2 separate regions of the Homo sapiens genome follow, and region 1 is linked to region 2. Evidence: promoter capture Hi-C in 16 types of primary human blood cells and fetal thymus (Javierre and others, 2016). All regions are on one chromosome and are shown on one strand. The core of a region is centred on a gene start or on the middle of the fragment in contact, and the rest is flanking DNA. Distances in the headings are between cores, read along the strand shown. Region 1 holds the start of SRP19 (signal recognition particle 19). Region 2 holds the start of CHD1 (chromodomain helicase DNA binding protein 1).

The links. The method cuts DNA at HindIII sites, captures the fragments that hold promoters and counts their contacts. A CHiCAGO score of 5 or more calls a contact.
Region 1: a contact is called between a fragment that was not itself captured here and the fragment with the promoter of CHD1 in region 2, in 1 of 17 cell types (total CD8 T cells). The highest score is 13.2, in total CD8 T cells.

Annotation. Positions count from the first base shown.
Region 1 is chr5:112,858,360-112,862,842 of GRCh38, reverse strand. It overlaps SRP19 (signal recognition particle 19), which reads right to left and starts at 1,556. Exons shown (of 5, transcript NM_003135.3): 1 at 1,426-1,556; 2 at 260-335. The coding sequence starts at 1,466. RefSeq lists enhancers at 1,259-1,558, 1,659-1,738, 1,497-1,791. The HindIII fragment of the contact is 1,456 bases long and covers 1,708-3,163 here.
Region 2 is chr5:98,927,220-98,931,729 of GRCh38, reverse strand. It overlaps CHD1 (chromodomain helicase DNA binding protein 1), which reads left to right and starts at 2,723. Exons shown (of 36, transcript NM_001270.4): 1 at 2,723-3,191. It overlaps CHD1-DT (CHD1 divergent transcript), which reads right to left and starts at 3,168. Exons shown (of 4, transcript NR_151718.1): 1 at 3,088-3,168. It overlaps LOC100289230 (a long non-coding RNA gene), which reads right to left and starts at 2,596. Exons shown (of 1, transcript NR_036530.1): 1 at 721-2,596. RefSeq lists enhancers at 1,990-2,319, 1,808-2,706 and silencers at 2,480-2,689, 2,950-3,579. The HindIII fragment of the contact is 7,543 bases long and covers 1,049-4,510 here.

The DNA of each region.
Region 1 (4,483 bases), core at 1,186-3,685, about 14 Mb before region 2:
TGAACTCTACACTCTGCCCCCACTCCTTTACAAACAAAGGCTCATTAAGAGACGTTAAAAAAATATCCCTTCAGCTATGAATTAATGCCTTTCTGGTTTCACCAACACTGAGGAACGCACCCCAATTCTTGGCTGTGTTCTCAAGCCCTAAATAAATGCAGTGAAGAGAACCCCCTGCGGCTCTAACAAGATTACGTGGCCCGACCAGGATGACACCCCCCATTCCCTCGAGGATCAAGGTGCCAGCCATCTTGCTTACCTTACTTATGGGGATTCGCCTTCCCTCTGCGATGGTCTTCTTATTATTTAAATAAGCAGGATAGATACAAATAAACCTGCCATAGACAATAGCATAAGTGGTATCACTAGAGCAGTAAGAGGCAGGAGAAAAGGGTCGGGTGGCAGGGAACCAAAGGCCAATTCATGCTGCCTAGATATCAGATGGGTACTCCCTTTTCAACCCCTCCTTTTTCTGCGTGGCAGTTGAAAAATCAAAGTACCTCGGAGTGGTCCCCTCGAGCAACTAATCAGACTGGCCGCGGGCCTACTCCTCTTTCTGATTGATCCCCCTCCCTCAACCAATCAGACTGGCACAGGTCAATGGGAAACGTCTAGAGGGTATTTAAACCCTAGAAAATTCTGTAACCAACAGCTCTTGGGTAGCTTGCTGGAGCCGGCTCCCACCCTGTGGAGTGTACTTTTGTTTAAAATAAATCTGCTTTCGCTGCCTTGCTTTGTGTGTTTTGTTCAATTCCTTATTCAAAACGCCAAGAACCTGGACAACTACACTCAACAGATAACAAGTATTTTCAAAAATACATTCTTTCGGTCCGTGGTAGTCGTCATCATTGCTGGTACACCTATGCTATTATTTGCTTAATGTTATTTCTTTAAATTACCTCACTTTAACTTATTTAAAAATAAACTTTATCCACTACCTTGGATGGAAAAAAACCACAGGAATAGAAACAAAACGACTTGGGTAACTGTTACATTAGACAGAGCAGCCCGTCAAAAGTTCCTGAGAATGGGCCCGCCCTCTTATATAAAGTGTCCGAGGTATTAAAAACCTTAAAATTTCACAAATGAGCCTTTCTGAACGCAACAATACTTAAAAAGAACACATTTCTCACACTGTGATTATATTACTTGATATCATGTCCACGTAGCACCCAAAATCCTTGTCTCGCGTACAGATAAACACTAGGCTACCTATGGTCGGAATTTCAGGAGCCCTGAGAAGAGCCTGGTGGCTGCTGCAGGATTCAGAAAAACGAGCTGCCAGGGAGAGGCGCGGGGCCCGTACAGAGCGAGTTGGATCAGCTAGGCCATTCTGGAGGCCGCGGAGCGGAGAAGCGCGGTGTAGCACCTGCAGCACCACAGCAAGCCCCTTCCTTTCGGAGGACCCACCGCCTCAGAACCCACCTGTCCTGGTCGGCCGGGGACCGCGCGGCAGCGCAAGCCATCTTCACAAGAGTCTCAACAACCCAGGAGCCGCAGGGAGAAACCCGGCAGAAACCCGGGAGGAACCCGGCTCTGAGTTTCCGAGACAGCCCGCTTTTCCGCCGGAAGTCCTGCCCAAGAAATGGTTCCGCGTCCGCGATTTCTCATCGCCTGTTTGTTCCGGCACCTGTCGCTCGGCGCCAGGATCTCTAGTCTCTGACGTGGCATGAAGACTTCCCTTCTCGCGAGAGAATCATGAAAGCTTCTCATTCCTTTCCCAAGCCGGGAAGACCATGTGGGGCGCATGCACCGCCACTAAAAAGGGTTTAACTTCGACCCTCCCTCGTTTCCAGTTTCTCAGCGAGTATGGGTGGTACTAGCTACTCTCTGTTAAGGGGCGAAGACTGTGCCACGAGGGGAATCTGTGTGGTTCAGGATGCAAATATATGTTAGACAGGGAAGGAAATACTCCTTACGTTTAATTTTTCTCCGTTCCTGGGCTCTAGAGCTTGCTTTCAGTTTGGCAAAATGGATTTTTGTAGTGGTAGAACTAGCAAAGTTATAGACGTTGTGTTTCAGTGTGCTCTGCGTTAGAAACTTAGCTATTCACCTTTTAGGCCGGGTGCGGTGGCTCACGCCTGTATCCCAGCACTTTGGGAGACTGAGGCAGGTGGATCATGAGGTCAGGAGTTGGAGAGCAGCCTGGCCAACATGCTGAAACCCCGTCTGTACTAAAAATACAAAAATTAGCCGAGTGTGGTGGCACACGCCTGTAATCCCAGCTACTCGGAGGCTGAGACAGGAGAATCACTTGAACCCAGGAGGTGGAGGTTGCAGTGAGCTGAGATCACACCACTGCACTCCAGCCTGCGTAACAGAGCAAGACTCCGTCTAGGAAAAACGAAACAAAACTATTCACCTTTTAAAACTTCTGAAGGATACCATGTGCCATCACTACAGGCATACTTCATTATTGCACTTCACTTGCTGCTGCGAGTAGATACTGCCTTTTTACAAATGGAAGGTTTTTGGCAAATCCGCCTGAAAGAAGTTGCTTGGTGCCATTTTTCCAGCAGCGTATACTTTGTGTCACATTTGGTAATTTTTGCAATATTTCAAACCTTTTCATTATTTCTGTTATGGTGATCGGTGATCAGTGATGTTTGCTGTTACTATTGTAATAGTTTTAAGGCCGGGTGCGGTGGCTCACGCCTGTAATCCCAGCACTTTGGGAGGCCGAGGCAGGTGGATCACGAGGTCAGGAGATAGACACCATCTTGGCCAACATGGTGAAACCCCATCTCTACTAAAATATAAAAAATAAGCCAGGCATGGTGGCACAGGCCTTTAGTCCCAGCTACTCGGGAGGCAGGGGAATCTCTTGAACCCAGGAGGTGGAGGTTGCAGTGAGCCAAGATCACACCACTGCACTCCAGCCTGGCGACAGTGCAAGACTCCGTCTCAAATAATAATAATGTTTTGGGGCACCATGAACCATGCCCAGATAAGATGGGGAACTTAATGGATAAATGTTGTGTATGTTTTAACTGTTCGACCAACTGGCCATTTCCCATCTCTCTCCCTCTTCTGGAGTCCCTATTCCCTGAAACACAACAATGTTGAAATTAGGCCAGTTAGTAACCCTACAATGGCCTCTAAGTATTCAAGTGAAAGGAAGAGTCACACGTCTCACATGTCAAAAGATGGAAATGATTAAGCTTAGTGAGGAAGGCATATGTAAGCCAAGATAGGCTGAAAGCTAGGCCTCTTGGCACCTAACAGCCAAGTTGTAAATACAAAGACAAAATTCTTGAAGGAATTAAAAGGAAATTACTTCAATAAACACACAAATGATCAGAAAGCAAAACAACCTTATTGCTGATATGGAGAAAGTTTTAGGGGTTTGGATAGAAGCTCAAACCAGTCACAACATTCCTTTAACCCAAAGCCTAATCCGAGCAAGGCCCTAACTCCCTTCAATTCTGTGAAGGCTGAGAAAGGTGAGGAAGCTTCAGAAGTGGGAAGCTAGTAGAGGGTGGTTCAGGAGGTTTAAGAAAGAATCCATCTCCATAACATATAACATAAAAGTGCAAGGTGAAGCAGCAAGTGCTGATAGAGAAGCTGCAGCAAGTTATCCAGAAAATGTAGCTAATATCATTGACGATGATCAATGATTAGCTAGTATCATTTAGTGGCTACACTAAACAACAGATTTTTCAATGTAGACAAAACAGTCTTCTATTGGAAAAAGATACCATCTAGGATGTAGCACCCAAAATCCTTGTCCCTTTGAGAGAAGTCAATGTCTGGCTTCAGAGCTGCCCCATTTAGTGGCTACACTAAACAACAGGTTTTTCAATGTAGACAAAACAGCCTTCTATTGGAAAAAGATGCCATCTAGGATGTAGCACCCAAAATCCTTGTCTCTTTGAGAGAAGAAGTCAATGCCTGGCTTCAAAGCTGCCAAGGACAGGCTGATTATCTTGTTAGGGAACAATGCAGTTGGTGATTTTAAGTTAAAGCCAATGGACATTTACCATGCAGAAAATCCTAGAGACCCTAGAATGATGCTAAATCAACTCTGCCTGTGTTCTCTAAATGGAACAACAAAGCCTGGATGACAGTACATCTGTTTACAGCATGGTTTACTGAACTATTTTTTTGAGACAGTCTCGCTCTGTCACCCAGGCTGGCATGCAGTGGCCCTATCACATCTCACTGCAGCCTTGACCTCCCACACTCAAGCAATCCTCCTACACAAGCCTCCTGAGTAGCTGGGACTATGGGCTCATGCCACCATGCCTGGCTGATTTTTATTTTTATTTTTAGTGGAGACAAGGTCTTGCTATGTTGCCCGGGCTGGTCTTGAACTCATGGGGTCAAGCAATCCTCTTGCCTCAGCCTCCCAAAGTACTGGGATTACAGGCGTGAGCCACTGCACCCAGCCTTTACTGAATATTTTTAAGCCCACTGTTGAAAACAACTACTCAGAGAAAAAAAAAAGAGATTCCTTTCAAAATATTACTGCTCATTGACAATG
Region 2 (4,510 bases), core at 1,474-3,973:
GATTTCATGGTTTCTATTCAGAGGACTTTGTAAATTTAAGAATCATATTGGAAAGACTTCCTCTGGTTTTGCAAGGACATGGGAAATACTGTCACAGGTTGAGATTCTAGGGTATTTTAATAATGTCCCGATTGTTTTTGTGGTTTCTCATATGCAAATCCTCCAGGCAACAAGGACATAATTATGGAATTAAAATCTTAACCCTGGCATCCAAAAAGCTAACAAAGGAGCAAGTTATCCTGTTTATGTTATATATTTCACAATTCTGGATATGTGGTTCCCAGCCTATCCCCACCTAAGGATACCCATTTAGTACTTTACCTAGTAAAGCATATCACAATTAAGGACCCACAAAATGCTGTCTTAGATTCCGGAAAAGTAATATTCTTTCCAAAGAATATGAAATTTTAAAAATGAGAAATTAAATAGTAACAAAAACCTCCTGGTTAATGTTAATTATGTGGAATTTTTCGTTAGTCATGTGTTGAGATTATCAACTGTTTGGCTATTGTTTTAGTACCACTAAGTAGAGATAAAGCTAGTTTATTCAAATAAAGTGACACTGCAAATTTAACTATGTTGATAACAAATCATCAAAAAGGTATCTTTGGATTACCTACACGCTTTTTAAAAAATGAACTGGCAAGATTGTTGCAATTTTCCACCTACTGTGTACTTCTGCAAAGCAATAAAGTATGATTTTACTCGAAATCTAAATCTCCAATGTTCAATATTTTATTACAAATTGGGCAAGATCTTTTTTCGAATAGCATGTTTGATGGCACAATACGACAGAATAGCATATTCAATGGCACAATTAGTAGTAAAAAAACAAAAAACCTGCCTGACGTGCTTCCGGAAAACGTAAAATAGACTGTATATACAGTAATTCTTTTCATAAGACAATGACAAAATGTCAGAGTTGTAATTGAGGACTTTATTAACTGAACTATACTTCTGATTACAACATTCTGTGTATGTTAATAGTTTCTCTGGAGAAATTACGGGCACAGGAAGTTCCTCTCATTAAGGATATTAACATAAAGCTTAATATGAAAAATTAGCACTCAGTTCAGAAATGACGACTTCAGAAATGACTTCAGAAATGACGATTTGTATGATCTTTTCATTCCTCACAACCCAGTATTAAAACTATCTAATATTGCAAAGGATGGTAGTGTTCCACTTCGTTTTGCTATTCAATTATTGCTGATAGATACATGTTTTCAAAAAGGCCATTGGCATCTGTTTGCTTTCTCCTACTTCTCCAAGTGAATACACCCTTCAATATGTAGTAAATACATATGTGGAGTTATGTTTTGAGATTTTTTTGAAGGATTTGAACCAAACTGTTTAAACAGCTGGTAGCCTAAAACTGGAATATTTCCCACAAGGGAAAAATAATTATTTGGGGAATGTATGTTACCACAAACTCATCTGACTTGGAAAGTGCGCCTTTACACCAAATCAAATAACTGAACAATGGGATTAGAAACTTTTAATTATTATTAACCTCGGCCACCGGGCGCCGTGGCTCACGCCTGTAATTCCAGCACTTTGGAAGGCAGTGGCAGGTGGATCGCTCGAGCTCAGGAGTTCAACACCAACCTAGCAACATGACAAAACCCCGCCTCTACAAACATAAATAAAAAACAAAAATCATTAACCTTGAGTGAGTCAAGTTCATCTGCAGACTGAAAAAAATAAAGTGTAACAGAATTTTGATTTAAAAAACGCTTTCAAAAAAGCATTTCAAAATGCTCTAAGTATGTTTCAAAAATACACTTAAAAATATGTTTCCAACACACTGAAGGGATTTAACTAAGATCCACAATTACAGTTACGATACAAACTGTAAGCTAAAAGGCAGCAACTTAAGCTGAGACAGTTACTAACATCCCTCGAGCAGCGTTTTTTGTTGCGATTCGGCGCCGCACCCGTCACCCCGCCCTCCGGGGAGGAACCTAGAAAGGAAGGGTGGTACATTTCTAAACCAGGCCACCCACACATGAATCAAGCGGCATCACAGGCTGTCAACAACCGGGTCTCTATTTTCTCTCCTCCTCCGGCGCCCCGCCCGTGCGGGACATCAGCTCCCAGGATGCGTCAATCGCAGATCGCCCAAGCGTAAGAGGTGGCGAGAGGCCACCACGGTTGCCCAACAGTTGCGTTCCCAGGCTGCCTGGTGTGACGCAGCAGCCCCCGCCCGGACCCTGAGGCCTGGCGCTCCGACTGAGCCGAGGCCTGTGCTACCCGACACTCCTTGCGACCCGGCCCCTTAGGCTTATTCAGCGCGGCCCTTCCCGGCTTCCCGAGTCCCATCGCAGTCTCTCCCCACCCCCGTTCCTCCCCGGTTCCTTGTCAGTGTCCGCCGCGATGTCCTTGCGCAACCATCCCAAGTGACATTAGCGCCCATACCCGCACGGAGCGAGCCTGAAGCTCCCACTTCCCGGAATTCAACGCCGGGCCGCTAAGGGCGGGCACCCAAGCGAGGATCAGCGGACTAAGGCCGCGACCAGAGTCCAGCGGTCTCCGCGCAGTCAGAGTCCGACAGCCTCTGCGCATCCGCCGTGCGCACTCCCATTCGTGCGCGTGCGCGCACTCGCCCCCCCCGCCCCGCCCCAGCACCAATCGCTTTTTTCCTACGCCCACGACCCTTCAACGTAGTCCCTCCCGCCTCCCGCGCGCGAGCAGAAAGGCTTCGGCGTGCGCGCGCCCGCCCGCCTCGCGCTCTGTCGGGAAGGGGAGTGAGCAGAGGCGCTTACGTCGCGCGGGAGGCGGAGGCGACGGCGACCTCGGTGGCGGCGGCGGCTACGACGGAGACGGTTGCGCTCGCTTGCTTTCTCGGCGTCATGGCGGCTGCCGGGGGCAGATAAGCGGAGGGAGCGGGAGCGCGCGCGCGACGGCGGCGGCGGCGGCGGCGACGACTGGTTACTTATAGCTCTTGCTGCCCTCGCCCTTGGTGCTTCAATAATGAATTGTTAGCTCCACTCCGCAGGGGATCGCGCGTTGGTGCTGCGGACCGGGGCTTCCCCTTCCCCTCCGCGTCTGTCCCCTTCCCCCTCCCCCGCACGGACTCTTGCTTACCCCGAGACGCCGGAGCCCTAGGACTGGGCGGCGGAGATCCCGGGCCTGGGCGCGGGGGAGGCCGTCCACCCGAGTCGGCTCCCTCCGCCCCGCCAAGCCCGCCGGTAAGAAAGGGGGCGGCGGGCGGGTCAGGATGTGGCGGAGAGGACAGGAACCGGCCGGGCGGAGGGCGGGCGCGGCGCGGTGCCCAGGCGGCGGCCCAGCGGCCGGGTGAAGGCCGGGTGGCTCTGTGAGTGCCGGTGGCGGTGTACGGGCCTGGCGCGCAGGGGGCGTGTGAGCGGCGAGTACAGGCCGGGGCCGCAGAACGCATCCTTGCGCCGGCCCGGCGGCCCTGCCCCGGCCTCTTCGGCTTGGTGCCGACCGGGCCGCGAGAGGAGACCCGCGAATGGCTAGCACTTAGCCGGTGCGTGGGTCCTGCCGCGACCCGGGCTCCCAGCACGTGGGGAGCGGCGGGAGGGGGAGGGGGCGGCGGCTCGGGCGAGCCTGGGAGGGCGCGGGGCGGGTCTGCGGGAAGTTTGAGGCGGGAAGAGGGACTCCTGGACCGGGATGGAGGCCCTGGGAGAGGGGGGCAGGTCCGCGAGGGAGGCTGATTGGAGCGCGCTGGATGGATGAGTGAGGATGGTTTCCAAACCTCTTTCGAGTGCCGCTTTAAAAACTTAGCAGGAGCAAAGCAACTGCTAAAAGACAGAGGATTGAAGAGGTTTAATAACTTAGGGTAGTCATTGTGGAGACGCTTGAGAGGACACAGCGCTGTGTGCGCTTGGAGCTTCAGAACTCAGGGTTGTGAAAAGGGTCTCAGAGGACTTATTCGGATAAGGGAGATGGAGGGGAAAGGAAGTTAAAATGTACAGAGAAAGCCATTTTGAGGGACGAAAGGAAGGTGAAAAGGAAAGAACGAAAAGGGGAGTGAACTTTTTAAAGGAAGAAACGGGAAAGGCAGTTTGTTAACATACTTAGATTTTTTAAGACTTAATTGTTCAGTAAGGCACTTTGACTAGGGTTGAGATTAATATTTAACATTAGGAATAAATGTTGAGTAGAACGGTTACTTTTTAGATAACCTGTTCTTGCAGAGTCTACTGGACAGTAGTCTAGAGAATTAACATCCTGATCCAGATGCAGACTTTGCTATCATTGAGTTGGTAACAATCTGTTTCCCTCCCTCTCTTGTGGAATGGAAATAATCGTAGGAGTGAATTCTCTTTGCTGAGGTCGGAGGACAGCTCTGCTCTCAGTTGGCTGTCTCGGTACTTTCTGGCTGGGGAAGGATCTGACGTCTCCTTCCCCCGCTTCTTCCTCTCCCTCCCCTGCCAGAGATCTCCTTTGTTTATTCGTGGATGGCTTGTAGGTGATTCTTCAGTGTTGTACTGAAATCTTTAAAGGTGGAAATGGTGTGTCTTGGTTCATTATTCTTGCCCCAAAT